Linked DNA regions of Homo sapiens: region 2 is linked to region 1. Evidence: promoter capture Hi-C in 16 types of primary human blood cells and fetal thymus (Javierre and others, 2016). All regions are on one chromosome and are shown on one strand. The core of a region is centred on a gene start or on the middle of the fragment in contact, and the rest is flanking DNA. Distances in the headings are between cores, read along the strand shown.

Region 1 (7,672 bases), core at 143-2,642:
GCCTAGAGGGCGTGGAGTCCAGCATGAGTCTCAAACTTTCATTATTCTCTCCTCAGATACCTCCCAGGCAATGAAGGGAAATGGTTGACTTGTGAGAAGCAAATCATATTTAAAAGTATACTTATTCAATTAAAAAAAATTAGGCCATGTCAGATGTAATTTTTAAGATACTCTACATATTTGGACATTGATCTATTCTAACGTCACATGTCACTTATTTATGATTTTCTACAAAATTGCTTCCTCTATCCTCATCTCTTTTCCCTCACAAGTAACTTAAGCGAACTACTTCCACCAGGAAAAGACAAGTTGGTCCCCGGTAGTGAAACTGCAGAGTTGTCTGCTCTCCACTGGTTCACCAAGCGTGGCCCCTGCTCCTTCGGAGCCTCCCCGTCCAGGACATCCCACTGCCATCACACTCTGCTGAGAACTACTTCTTAAACGACATTCATCACCTGTCACCTTCCAGGCTGAATGTTTACAGGCCACGCATAGGCCTCCAGTTAGGATATTCTACCACTTCAAGACATTCGGTAAGACTAGTTCTCTAAAATAAACATGTTATGTACAGAAAGCTAACTTTTAAACAATCTGAACATGAGTAATGTTTTCCCTTTCACTGGCATTTTGTCCTACGCCCATACCTTTCAAATTTGGACTCCACATCAAAGTCTTCCACATTCAAGACCAGGTCGATGTTGTTCTCAGCACCCAGGTGGGACCTCGTCGTGGTGTACACGCTCAGCTGGAAAGGAGGGGGCGTCGAGAGTCAGCTCGGCCAGGCCCTGGCAGGACGCACTCAAATCCCACGGCCAGCTGGAGGGCGGAAGACCTGGCCGCTGGGGAACCAGGAAAGGTTCCATCTCGACTCGCGCGGCCACAGCTCCGAACTGGGACGGGAAGGCGACGTCTGGGGCCTGGAGGAGAGGCCCCCACCCCAACCCGCCCGGCCCCCGGCCCCGCGGACGCTCACCTGCAGCTTGGGCCGCCGCGCCAGGTAGGGCTGGATGCAGTTGGCGTCGCCGGAGCACGGGCGGGTGTAGACGATGCCGTACATGACCCAGCAGGTGTGCACCACGTAGACCACGAACACGCCCACCACCAAGCTGGTGAAGGAGCTGCGGCCGCTCCACATGGCGGCCCCGCGCCCGGCGCCCCCGGCCCGCCCGCCTCTCAGCCGCGAGCCCCGCCCGCCCGGCGCCCAGCCCGCCGCTCCGGGCTCCGCCGCTCACTGGAGAGCCGCCGCGCGCCACCGCCACCGCCGCGGGGGAACGAATGCGCCGCGCGCCGCAGACCGCCGGCCGCCCCGCATGCTCCGGCCCCGCTCCCACCTGGCGCCGCGGGATTCGCCGGCCCCGCGCGCCGCTTCCGGGCCCCGCCGCCTGCCGGAAGTGGACGCGCCGCGCGGCTCCCTGGGAAACGGAGTCTCGGCCGCTGCCGCGCACGCGCATCCAGGATGCGGCGCGTGTGTGACGTTACCCGCCCGCGCCGCCCTCCTGGGGTGCCTCTCAGGGACCCAGGCGCTCAGCTGCTGGGGCCGCGGAGGGCGTTCGCGGGGCGCCGGGGAAGGCTAGGGCCGCGGGGTCCCCGGGGCGCCGTCCCCAACCGCCGACGCCTGCCAGACCACCAAGTGGGGGCCATGTCGACGTGTGAGGAGCCTGGTGGAAGGTGATACTGGAATTCCGGCACTGGGCCTGCAACCCTTTTAGTCCACAGTTGTCAGAATCTAAAGGGAAGAAAAACGAAGTGCTCAGAACCCTCACAGAAGCCGGGCACCTCATCCCGTGTGTGGGTTTTTTCCCCAGTACAAACCCATTGTGGGGACAGGCGCTTTTGAAGAAAAAATTCAGATTCCCGGGCTGAAGTGGCTCCTCACAGCCTTGAACCTGACCCCCAGCTTCCCGCTAAAGCCGAGCGTGCCCAGCACGGCGAGGTCAGCAGAGGCCCCTCGGAGGGCGGCCGGGGGAGGTCAGTGGGAGGCCCTCGGGCAGCCGGTGGATGGGCCGGCGACCTCCCCGACTCCATCAGAAGCGCTCAGTCTGTGCCCTTCAGTTACTGGAGCAGCTCCCGTCCTTTGGCCAGTTCTCTGGAAGGTCGTTTCCGTTTCTGTGTCTGCCACACGTGCAGCACAATCGAAAAACCTTGTTCGACATTTCTAGAAAGAGTAGATGCTACTGAAGACCCAATAGATTGCTGAGGGTTTTCAGAGCAGGGACAATTGCATCAGGGTGCTGGGCTCCGGGAAGAACTCAGAGGACTTGGCTGACGGGCGGATGGGACAGTGATTGGTGCCGAGAATGGGCCAGAGAAGCAGGTCTGCCTGGAGCAGGCACCCGAGGCCGCGTGCAGGGGCGGTCCTGGGCCACCAACCCCTGGAAGCTGGGCCAGGAGCTTCGGAGCCATCCGAGGCTTTTTTCGCTCCTCTCACTCTCATGCACCTAGTTACCCTCCCCACAGAGTCTTCTCACGGCGCGGTTTTCGGCTACCATTGCAGTGGTGTCTGACTACACCCAGTGCCTCTATCGTTCCCCCCTCAGTCTGTTCTCGCTTCTTGGCAAACCTGTCCTTGGAAAGCCCTCTGCTGACTCCTGTTACCCTGATCAAATGCATCCTCCTCAGGAGGCTCGTGAGCCCTTTGCAGGGTGGCCCAAGAGGCATCACGCCCTGCTCTCCAGCCACTCTTGGGGTCCCCTACAGGGCCAGGCGTCCCACACCAGCAGCGGGTGCTGGTCCTGCCACAGTCTGTGCGACACGTGAATGAAGGCTGTAGACCTGTGGTCTGCGGGAGGCAAATTCCAACTCCAGCTGTCAAACATAAGGGGACTGGTAGGCTCTCCAGGGTGGATTGTCTCACGGCATCCAGAGGCAGGGACCGAGGCAGGGACCTAGCCAGGCCTCGGGAAGGAGCTGCAAACCCAGGAGCTCTGGGGTGTGGCTTCATCTCCCTCCCTCCCTACCACCCTACCCCCATCTCTCCGTGTTCTTCAGATGCCTCATTTTCCTGTCAGGCACCTGGCCAGCTCTAGGAGCTGGAATCAGGTTGGTGCCTCCTTGGTCAGTGTCCACCCCTAGTGTCATCCACAGTGACCAACGGAAGGGGTGGCCGGTGGTACAGGACATTGGCCATCTTGGGAAAGATCACAGAGACAGGAAGGGCCTCTCCAGCTGAGCAGATGAGAGGTTCTTCAGTGGTCTGGACACATTTGCCCACTCATGGCCGTCCCCCTGCCCTGTTGAGAGAACCGATGAGGAAAGGGAGCCCTGCATCTGTCGCCTTCCGACTCCGACCGCCTGAGGCTGGGCTGCCGGCAAGCCGCGGCAGCATATGACAGCACTTGAAAGAAAGTCCCTGGAAAGAATGTGGATCATTGCAGAACTCCCTCAAGAAAGCGCCAGAGGAGGACCCCATTCAGCACCCCGCAGAACTCCTCAAACTCCTGCGTCCACACTCCCCCAGCGTGGTGGCTGCTTCTATCTCCCCAGGCTTAGCTGGCCTGGGTCTTGAAGGCCTCTCCTCCTGCTGTCCCCACGCAGCATCCTCTCTGCCACTGCACAGCTGGATGCAGTGAAGGCCAGGCGGCTGTGGCTGCTTGGGCAACAGGAGCTGCTTGACCCTGTTCTGCTGGCCTTGTTGGCCTCACTCCCGTAGAGAGCCAAGGTTACCCACGTCTCTGAAGCTAAGGCTTTCTTTCTAGGCCTGGGGGAGTCACATCTTGCATTCGTACTCACTGAGCTCCACGTCTATGGTTAGAGAATTTATCAACATTTTATAATGCTTTTATCAATTCCATCATTTGAGGGCCCTCTGGCAAGGAACCTGTTAGTACATGGAGTGCCTGGAATGTTCCAGAAAGCTAACATGAACAGCTGGCCCTTGCTGTCCTTATACATTGAGGACTCCAAAGGCCACTCAGGATGACAGGAAATGCAGGCTCCAAAAGATTCGGTTCCTTTGTGAGGCCCTCGGGCAGTGGTCAGACACGAAGGAAATAGGAAATCACCCCCAAACCACACCTCTCCCTATGAGGCCACAGCTGCCGATGCAGCCTTGGGAGGGGGATGGAGGGAGAGAGGAGGGCATCTGAATGTGGACACACCCTGCTGTGAGGGCTGTGGGCGGTCCTGAGACTGGAGCCAGCCCCCAGGCTCAGCTCAGCTCGGGGACCTCGTGCCCGGGCTTTCCTGGGGAGGAAGGTGTTGGATCTCCTGCCTCTCTGTATTCATTCACACTTTGGGTTTCTCTCTCTTCCGCGCATTCTAACATCTGCAGGATTTTTTTTTTTTTTTTTTTTTTTTTGAGACAGAGTCTCGCTCTGTTGCCCAGGCTGGAGTGGAGTGGTGCGATCTCAGCTCGCTGCAAGCTCCGCCTCCTGGGTTCACGCCATTCTCGTGCCTCAGCCTCCAGAGTAACTGGGACCACAGGCGCCCGCCACGACGCCCAGCTAATTTTTTGTATTTTTAGTAGAGACGGGGTTTCACCGTGTTAGCCAGGATGGTCTCGATCTCCTGACCTTGTGATCCGCCCGCCTCGGCCTCCCAAAGTGCTGGGATTACAGGCGTGAGCCACCGGGCCTGGCACATCTGCAGGATTTATGGATGAAGGGCCACAAACCCACATTTGGTCTCATTCAACAGATGTTGTGTCGGCAGGGCGAGGTGGGACTCTGTCTCTGCCCACGCTACCTGCCCCTGGGGTTGTAGTTCTAGGAAAGCAAGTCTCAGACTGAGTTTTGATCTGGATTAAATTCTGTCCCAGGTGCAGATATTTATAGGAAAGCAGGGACAAGAGCCCTCAGGCAAAGCTGGGTATCCTGCGATGGGTGCCTCTGGGAGTTCGCAGATAACAAGGCCTTTTCCTGGAGGCAAAGCAGAAGCGTTCTGTGGCAGACCAGTCAGCTTTCTAGCAGGTCAGGGGCAGGGACATCTAGGCCCAAGGTGTCACACCGTGCCTGGCTGCTGGCTCTCCTCTTGCAAGGACACAGCTCTTACAGGACTTCCTAGCCCACCCAAGAACATCTTTCCATCATCGAAAAGTTATTGATAAGATTTTTCCATCACTGAAAAGTTATTGATAAGTGCCACCATGTGCATGAGCAGCCCTCCAGGTGCTGGCTTGTGGGCCGGTGTTTGAGAATCTTGCCAGTTGAATGTGGGCATCTGTTGAGGGTTTCCCAAAGGCTAACCGTTCGTGCCAGAGGGAGGCCGTGGCTCATTCCTAGGGCCCTGGGTGAGACTGGGGCTCATGCACACACAGGTATCGATGGCATGGGCTGTAACGAGCTGAGTGCCTGCTGCCCTTTCCTAGTGGGGGGGGTGGGCTCCTGGAGAAAGAGGGGAGGCTGCTACTCTCCAGGGCCACAGGGAGCCCAGAACGCCACCTCCTGGTGTCAGCAGCAGCAAATCCATATAAGTCTGCAGCAACTTAGCTTTTGCCTCCTCAGAGGAAATAATTCATCCAGGGGGCACAAGGCAGGGTCAGAGACTGAGGTAAGTTTCAGAGCAAGAGTGAAAGTTTATTAAAAAAGTGTTAGAGCAGGAACGAAAGGAAATAAAGTACACTTGGAGGAGGGCCAGGTGGGCATCTTGAGAGAGCAAGTACACGGTTTTGACCTTTGACTTGGGGTTTATATCTTGGCATGCTTCTGGGGGCTGCGTCCCTTCTCCCCTGATTCTTCCCTTGGGGTGGGCTGTCCGCATGCGCAGTGGCCTGCCGACACTTGGGAGGGCCGCGTGCACAGTGTGCTTACTGGAGTTGTGCGGTGCCCTCTTGAGGCAGTCTTCCCTTACCAGTTCCTAGGGGAAGGTCACACGCTGGTTAAACTTTGCCACTTTGCCTCGTAGTGTGCATGCTTGACCTCACTCACCAACTCCTGAGATTTTTTTTAAATTTTTTAATTTAAGTTCTAGGGTACATGTACACAACGTGCAGGTTTGTTACATAGGTATGCATGTGCCATGTTGGTTTGCTGCATCCATTAACTCGTCATTTACATTAGGTATTTCTCCTAATGCTATCCTTCCCACCCCACGACAGGCCCTGGTGTGTGATGTTGCCCGCACTGTGTCCAAGTGTTCTCATTGTTCAATTCCCACCTGTGCCAACTCCTGGGATCTTATCGGGAAGTGGCTCATCATCAGCTTTAGGTGTTTTCTATCTATTGGGAGCCTGCCTTTCTCTGGCACCAGCTGCAACCAATAATTATTTTAGACAGTTTAACAACAGCTTGACCATCACCTGATGATCACCTGACATTTCTGTTGGGGCGCGGGCCCATCTCCTGCCCCGCTCATGTGGGGCTCAGTCTGCCCAACCTTTCCCCAAGGGCCTGTCTTTACTTCATTTGTGGTAAGCCCCAAGCAGAATGGACTCTTGTTATGATCCCAGGAACTGCTCACGGCCACCTCTGTGGATGAACACCTAGCGGCTGCTCTAAATACATGCTGTGAAAGTTGTCAGAATCAAAATGGAGTCACTAATGTTAAGAAAGCCCTGACAAAGAGTTGGTGGGGAAGGCCACGAAGAGAGGACACTTATGCTTGCATGCCTGATACCAGAAAGGACTACAAAAACCACAGCCCGGCACAGAGGCCATCACACCCTTACACAAAAAATATTTCTGCAAGGACAACTGCCCAGCAATTGCCTGTCCAACCTCAGACTGGAATGACCTTTGTTATTGATGTTTGTAGCCAAGGAGAATTATCTCAAAACCACTGTGATCCTGCTCGCTTTTCCTTTAAAGACCTTTGTCTTCCTTGACCTCCCTGAATAGGCATATGGTTTACTATGGCGTGTGTACTCTCCTTGTAATGTTCTGTTCTCAAGCTAACATCTATTCTTCTAGAGAACCTCTCTCTTAGGCTGACAACGCTGTGGATCTGGGCTCCCAGGAACTGGGGCTGACATCAGAGGGGTGGAAAGAGAACAGCAGCTCTCCCTGAGGGGATGCTTGCCAAGGATAAGGAGACGATGGTTCTCTAAGGATTATTTTATATTCATCTAAAAGGGTATTTTTGTTGTTACCCCTAGCCTTTTTTCCCTTTTAATTTTCTGATGAATAATTTATATAAAGAAAACCCATTCTAAGTGTGCAATTCTATGAGTTTTGACAAATGTCTTCACCCATGCAAATCCTGTTACAACGGAGATATAGAACATTTCCATTACTTAAAAACAGCCAGGTGCTGTAGCTCATGCCTGTAATCCCAGCACTTTGGGAGGTCAAGGCGAGAGGATTACTTGAGCCCAGGAGTTCAAGACCAGCCTGGGCAACATAGTGATGCCCCATCTCTACAAAAATAGAAGAAATTAGCTGGGCATGGTGGTACATGCCTGTGATCCCAGCTACTTGGGAGGCTGAGGTAAGAGGATTGCTTGAGCCTGGGAGGTGGAGGCTGCAGTAAGCCACAATCTCACCACTGCACTCCAGCCTGGGTGACAGTCAGACCCTGACTCCAAACAAAAACCAAAACTTCCTTCTTGCCCCTTTGCAGCCAGACTGTTTTCTGTCATTGTGGATGCATCTGTTCTAGAAATTTACATGGATGGAATCACTCAGTCTTTTGTATCTGGCTTCTTTTACTTGGCACAGTGTTTGTGAAACTCATCATTGTTCCACATAACAGTAGTTCCTTTTAATTGCCAAGTGGCATTCCTTGGTGTGAATGCACC
Region 2 (7,117 bases), core at 2,530-5,029, 100 kb after region 1:
CCACTGCTGTCAGTGCCTGACACGTCCCTCCTGGATCCCCTTGTCATTGCGCACCTCGAGCCATGAAGTCAAACCCAAGAGCAGCACAGGGAGGCCCTGCCCATGCTCAGCGGTGCTCTAGGTACTATCCTTCCCCGTGGTGGTTCGGGGTGCCCTTCCCTGGCCTGCGTCCCCCCACTTTGCCCTGATCCTCTTTGCCTCTTGAGTTGTGAATCTGTGACCCCCCAACTCTGCCCCTGAGCTGAGTGGGCCCTGCCGTCCTGTCCCCAGCTTCTGGGGCCCTCAGAGGCTGCCCCTATTGACTGTGGCTGAGGGTCTTTGCTGCCCCAGGTGCTGGGAGCCCCTCCAGGGTAAGGCCTAGTTCCTCTGAAACCTGCACCTCCCCCACCCCCAGCACAAAGCCCAGGGAACCCTGGTCTCAACCTCCTAAATTCCCTCTGCTCCCCTGGTCTGACTGGAGTGAGGGAGAGCTTTGCCACTCTCTCTCCTGGGGAAGGGGAGGGGGAGGCATGGGGCCCCTCAGCTCTGTCTTTGGGCAACTTCCTGTACCTGCTGAGGCCTCTGTCTTCCCCTCTTCAAGATGGGCATAAAAATGCCAGCCTCCTCGCAGGCATCCTGTGAGGCTTCCCCCCAGATTCTTCCCCAGGCCTCCCTTCCCAGACCTAGCATAGAGGCCAATGAGGGAGGCCAGGCAGGGAGGCTGGGAGGCCCAAAGAGGCTCCTGGGAAGGGATCACCAATGTTCTTGGACGTCCCCGGTGGCCCTGCCTCGATCTTCGCTTTCTGGCTCTGTGGCTGGGTTCTGGAGGGTGCAGGGGACACAGTCACTTTCCAGGGGCCTCCTCTGCCACTCCAGGCTCCAGGGCCTCCACATGCTTTGCAAAGGCTGCCAAAGTCAGCCGCAGGCTGTTCTTTGGACCTTTGAGAATTTTCTTTCCAAAGCGAAGATAGCCTCTGGAAACAGGAGGCAGAGCCAAGCTGCCCCGTCTGCCGCCCCCCACCCCCCAGCTTCTTCGCGGGCCTCCCTTTCCTAAACTCTGAAATGCAGGCGTGGGACAAGGCAGCTCCGAGTCCTGCTCAATGGTTTTGTGACATCCTCTGGGAGGATCTGCACCGGCCGTGAGCTCTCACAGGGAGCTCCGTCTTCACGCATGGGAACAGCTTCATCTCGTTTCCGTACGTGCCTTGGCCCCGGCTGCCCCTACGACCCCCGCCCGGCCAGCATGCTCAGGGAGGCTGAGATGGGACTTACCGCCACCATTTTTGTAGCACAGGTAGGGGAACCGCCAGACGTTGGCCAGGTCCACAGCAAAGCCAATGACGGACAGGAGAAAGTCGATCTTCTTGCCCCAGGTCTCCCGATCCTGGGCCTCCACGGGGCTCTGCCGCGGGTTGGTGAGGGTGGAGCTGGTGAGCTGCACTCCGTTCTGCTCCTTGACAAGGATGAGCTCCACCTCCTTCGGGCCCACGGCATTGGGCTCCTTAGCCGGGGCCACCACGGAAGACATGAGTCCCACGGAGCATTTGCTCTTACTCATGGGCACACTGGGAGTTGAGGAATTCTGTGCTTCTTCCCTCTTGGTCTTCAGCCAATATGAAAAATAAACACACAACAGGAACGCAACAATTCAGCAGCCAGGGCTAGGGACATACCTGGTGCGGAGGGCAGAGCCCCGAGGCATTCACGGGCATTCCTCTGGGAAGGGATGGGTGCGTTCTCAGCGCCTGAGATGGTACAGCTGGGGCACGGGAGCTGGGAAGTGCCAGCCCTCACCACAGGGCTGGGGCACTGGCCCATGGAGGCCTCAAGACAGACACTCTGGTTTGCTCCTCCTTCCCCTGCACCCCTCCCCACTCCTATCAAAGTGCAAGGCTGTGTGAGCTCTAGCGTGGCTTTCTACTAACAATGCATGGATATCACTTCCACCTTCCCCCACACTTCCAGAGAGCAATTTTACAATCTTCTAAGAGCATTCAATAATGTCTTCATGACTGTTCATCTGTATTCTTTTTTCTTTTTTTTTTCTTTTTTAACATGAGGTCTCGCTCTGTCACCCAGGATGGAATACAGTTGTGATTACAACTCACTGCCTCAACCTCCTAGGTTCAAGTGATCCTTGCACCTCAGCCTCCTGAGCAGCTGAGACTACAGGTGTGCACCACAGCACCGGCTAAGTTATTTTTGTGTGTGTTTTTTTGTTGTTGTTGTTGTTTTTTTGTAGAGACAGGGTCTGACTATTGTTGCCAAGGCTGGTTTTGAACTCCTGGTCTCAAGCGATCCTCCTGCCTCAGCCTCCCAAAGTGCTGAGATGACAGGCATGAGCCACCAAGCCTGGGCTTGTATTGTTTATACTCAGTAATAAAGAGCAAAATTTATATAAGCAAAATCAGCCACTGTAAAGAGAGTTTAGACATAACCATCACAACTGCTTCCTCAAAAAGTGTCTGTACAAGCCACATCCACCTAGGGCAGGTGGCACCACCCCGCGTGAGAGAGCTGGGCGGAGGATGGACAGGGCTTCATCGCGGGAACTAGCTCCTGGGCCAGCAGGGTAACCCGGGAAATCCTGTCCAAACGGCTACATAAACCCCCCTGCAACGCTGAGCAGGAGAGCAGGAGCGTCTACACCGCCCCAGCCAGGGCGACTTCTGTCATTTGGATCCAGCAGCAGCGTGTTTCAGTCGAGCGCACGCACACACAGACACACAGACACACACAGACTCACAAACACACATACACACTCACACACACACAGGCGAGCACATACACTTACACACATACACACTCACACTCACACAGGTGCGCACACACACACAACGACTGAAGCAGGTCGCAGGTGGAGGCTCTAACAGGCAACTTTCCCTGCATCCAAGTTTGCACAAAACCTCACCCATGAGCTATCACGAGCTATGCCACGCACCCGGTGACAACCTCAACCGGCACGACCCCTCCGGTGGGTAAAACACCCGACGAAGGGGTTCCGCGGCGCGAGCAGGAGGCCGCGTTGGGAGAGGGCGTCGGGTGCGGAGCTCGCGAGTCTCCGGCAAGCCGCCGCCGCCCTGGGGCCACCTGACCCCGCTCCTGAACGCGGGGCCTCAGAGGCGAGTTTTGGGTCTACACAGCAAAATGTGGCCCGTTAGAAAGCGTCCTTCCTCACCGCGCCCAGAACAAGAAGCGGCGCTGCCTGGCGAGTCCTCGCCCGGCCTCCCCGCCCTGCCCAGAGCACCAGCGCGCAGCCCGCGCCCGCCACCACCCCCAACACAGACAAAGCCCCCGCGAGATGGAGCGGCGGTGTACAAAACCCACTCCGATCGGATCTGGGATGCGCCGCACCCCTAGTAGGGTTAAGTTCCACGAGAAGAAACCAGGACCCCCGAGTCACAGCCATAGACACCCACGCGTCCCCTAAGCCGGTGACTGCACCAGGTGCCCACCCGGTTCTGAGCCTGGAGCGGGGCCAGGGGCAGCCCTGCACCCTCCTCGCGCCTCGGACGGCCTCAGGGTCCCATGTGGCGCTATCGGGGGGCGCTCGGCACCCGCGACTGTTGGCGACTTTGGAGACGGCGCGGTCTGCGGGACGCGGGGACCCCAGACTGTGCCCGGTCCCCGGCCCCCGCCCCTGCGCCCCACTTCGGGGTCTGCGGAAGGAGCGGGGCGCCCCGATGCCGCGAGCGACGCTGGCCTCACCTGGCCGCCCGGGCCTGGGCTTTGCACGCGAGTCCTGGCGCCGAGAGCGTTCCGCGAAGCCTCCCCTCCCGCTCCGCAGCGCTGGGCGGTCTCAGCCTCGGCCTCGGGCTCTTATCCAGTAGACAGGGTCCGCCCCGCCCCGCCCTCCCGCCGACGGGGTCGCCCTCGCGTCCTGGCTCCTCCTCCTCACCTCCCCGGGCCGCGCCCCCGCCCCCGCCTCCCGGACGCAGATGGCTGGGAGCAAGCGGCGGCCACGGCTCCACTGTCCTGCGCGTCCCGGAGCCTCGGACACGGGGTGCGGGGGCCTGGGGGTCCGAGACGTCGCGGATCTAGACGGGCGCCTTCCACGCGGGAACTGTCTGGGCCGCCCTGCGCCCTCGCCCGCACCCCTGGGGGCTGCCCCGGGCACCCGCTATCTTCGGACGCCCAGGGCTGGCGGCTCCCAGCTGGACGGGGAGGGAGCCGAGCGGCTGCGCGCGGGGAACTGCTGGGACCCCGTCGGGCCGACCCTTCCCTCCCTCCCCATCAGGGGCCCCTACGGTGGCCCCGCGCTCTGGGGACCACGTCCCTCCCACCCCGCCGCTCCACGCTCTGACCAGCGGGCTCGGGACCCCGCCGAGGACTCTGCACGCTTCCCGGCGTGCGGGCTGCGGAGACGCGGGTCCTTCCGTGGCCTTGGGGTCTCCGCGACCTCGAGGCGACCGAGGTCCCCTAGGCCTAGTCCCCGCCTTGCCGGCATCTAGTGCGCCTGCATCGGAACCGAGGGGCCCGCCTCGCACTCGCCTAAGAAAACCATTTCCCGGGACGGGCCTGGAAAGCCCTGGCGGTTGGTATCCGGCTCCAGGGCCGAATGGACTCCGAGGCTTTCCTTCCGAGATGCCCGGGCGGGATTTCTTCCATTCAGCGCGCGGAGGAATGGAGCCCCCAGGCCGCCAAGGCCCAGGATGTCCAGGTCCTTAGAAGGCACCGAGGTGAGTGGCCGCGCCCAGCTCTGTGCGTCGCCCCTAGGGTCGCCCGAACCCCGGCGTTCCTCCCCGTGTACCCTCGATGCTCCCGTGAGCACCCTGCCCTGGGCGTCCAGGCGAGCCCTGGGGCTCTCCAGCCATTCCAGCCTGCAGCCCGCGCTCAGCAGTGAGGGAGGCAGGGACCCTTGGTGCCTGACTCCGCAGTACCCGCCCGCAGCGCGGTGCCCCACCCCCTGCGCCCGCCCCGCACTCCCCGCACACCACCACTCCCCTCCCCGCCCCCCGCTCCCCCGCTCCCCGGCTCCGGGGCTGGCACCCAGGCAGAAGGCACTCAGGGCTGTGACTTCACGCTGAGTTGGAATCAAGTGGGAGCCTAGTGACCCCCTGGGGCTGCCATGACAAAAAACTCCACAGCCTGGGGGCTCACACAGAAGCCTTCAGTTCTAACGGTTCCGGTGTCCCGAGGCCAAGGCCTGGCCGACTCTGTGTCTGGTGAGGGCCGCTTCGGGGTTGCAGACAGTTCTCTCCCTGTATCTCCCCACGCTAGGGGCTGGGGAGAGCTCTCCGGGGTCTGTTTTATGAGGGCACTGGTCCCATTCCTCAGGGTGGAGCCCTCCTGGCCTGACCACCTGAAGGCCTCCTGACACCACCTCCCATCAGGGGTGGGACTTCATCGCCAGGGAGGTGAGGGGACTTCAGGAGAGGGGGATGTGCCACCTCGAAGCTGTAGTGTGTCAGTGGCTGCCACAGAAGGGATCTCTCTACCCCTATTATCTCCATGGCACAGGTTTCAATAAAAAGGAGTGAGCCAGGGCTTGGCCCCAGAGCAGCAGGGTTGAGGAAACAGTCTCCCAAGGAAAAGACTTTGCAGGTGACTAAGGGAGGCTGTTAAATAAAACACACAGAGAGAATGGATGTTCAGGTATATTAAAAATACACAGGCCAGGAGTGAGGGCTCACGCTTGTAATCCCAGCACTCTGGGAGGCCGAGGAAGGAGGATCTCTTGAGGCCAGGAGTTTGAGACCAGCCTGGGCCACATGGCAAAACCCTGACTTTGAAAAAAAAAATTAGCCAGGCATGGTGGCCCACACCTGTAGTCCCAGCTACTGGGGAGGCAGAGGTGGGAGAATAGCTTGAAGCTGGGAGGTGGAGGTTGTAGTGAGCTGAGATTGCGCCATGGGCCACAGGATGAGACCCTGTCTCGAAACAAAACAACACACAGGCAAACAGCGTTTGGGAAGGGATTGCAAGCGCTGCAGGAGCGCAGAATTGTGACCCAAAGCTAACAGGGTACAGGCAGGAAGGTGCAGGGACTAGAGGTCACACAGATCCAGGCAGCCACATCCTTACTGACCAGTAGCACACAGAGAATGCACCTGCCACACTCAGGAGGGGCCACTGAGTGATCACACGCATGTAACCTGCACTCTGCCAAGACAAAGAGCATTCCTCCACCCCTGCCTCAACCCCGACTTCCAACCACATGAATTAGGATAAAGGAGCTTTGGGTGCTCTAAGAACAAACTAACTGCGGGAGTTGGGCTCATGGATGACACAGAGAAAGCGCAGCTGCCAGACCCATGGGTCTCCATCCTCCCACAACAGGAATGCTCCGTGAACTGTGCAGGTAGAAGCAGTGTGGTTATGAGCTGATCAGACCTGATCAAACGGCCGACCTTTGCATGCTTGGAACTTTGCCCTAAATGCCAAGTCGGCTTTATTATCATTGTGGTTGCTGCTATGGCTGCTGTGGGCTCAGGGCGTTGGGTGCAGGCAGGTGGAGCCCCCCTGCCTCTGCACTTCCTGCCCATGCTCGGCACCTCTCCCCACTGGCTGGGACCGCAGCTGCAGAGCCCACAAGGAGCCCCTGGCCACTGACTGCTGTCTCCAAAGCAACCTTGCCCCACGGGTCCCCCCCTCCTTGGGTGCTGCCTCCTGGGAGGCCCTCAGTGCTGGATGTTGCGCCGTGTCTCGCCTGATTTGGAAGACAGCGTGGATGCTCCCCCCATGAGTGCTGTATCTGAGAGGGGACAAGGACAGTGGCAGTGAGATGACAGTCATTTACCTGCCTGCGTATTTACTATATTGAGGGTGTCCTGTGTGCTTTCAGAGGAAGTCCCAGGGAGCCCAGCTCAGACTTTAAAGACCCTGACCTCTCACTGGTGCTGGGAAGGCCCTGGGGGTAGGGGGCTTGGGGAGGGCAAGGGTGAGGGGACCAGTAGGCAGGAGTGGCTTTTGTCCAGGGGTGTGGGAGGTCAGATCCCAGACCTTGTCTGTCCAGGTTCTGAGAATGATGGAAGGCGCTGGCTCCAGGCAGGAGGCCCTGCTCACTGCTGCACCCCTGTGCCCTCCCCGGGGGCCACCTCAGGAGGAAGATAGTTTCCTCTCGCATGGCAGGGACAGCAGTACACTTCCAATGTCTTCTCTCAGAGCTGTATCATTTTCCGGCTCACTGCTGGTTTTA

What was found. Contacts are between HindIII fragments. The CHiCAGO score rates a contact against its expected background, and 5 or more counts as called.
Region 2: the fragment with the promoter of SLC6A3 here is called in contact with the fragment with the promoter of CLPTM1L in region 1 in 12 of 17 cell types (neutrophils, monocytes, M1 macrophages and 9 more); the score reaches 12.5 in neutrophils.

The regions. Positions count from the first base shown.
Region 1 is chr5:1,343,707-1,351,378 of GRCh38, forward strand. CLPTM1L (CLPTM1 like) reads right to left here and starts at 1,393. Exons shown (of 17, transcript NM_030782.5): 1 at 974-1,393; 2 at 645-745. The coding sequence starts at 1,135. The HindIII fragment of the contact is 23,624 bases long and covers 1-7,672 here.
Region 2 is chr5:1,441,661-1,448,777 of GRCh38, forward strand. It overlaps SLC6A3 (solute carrier family 6 member 3), which reads right to left and starts at 3,780. Exons shown (of 15, transcript NM_001044.5): 1 at 3,688-3,780; 2 at 1,252-1,582. The coding sequence starts at 1,537. RefSeq lists an enhancer at 4,418-4,917. The HindIII fragment of the contact is 13,596 bases long and covers 1-7,117 here.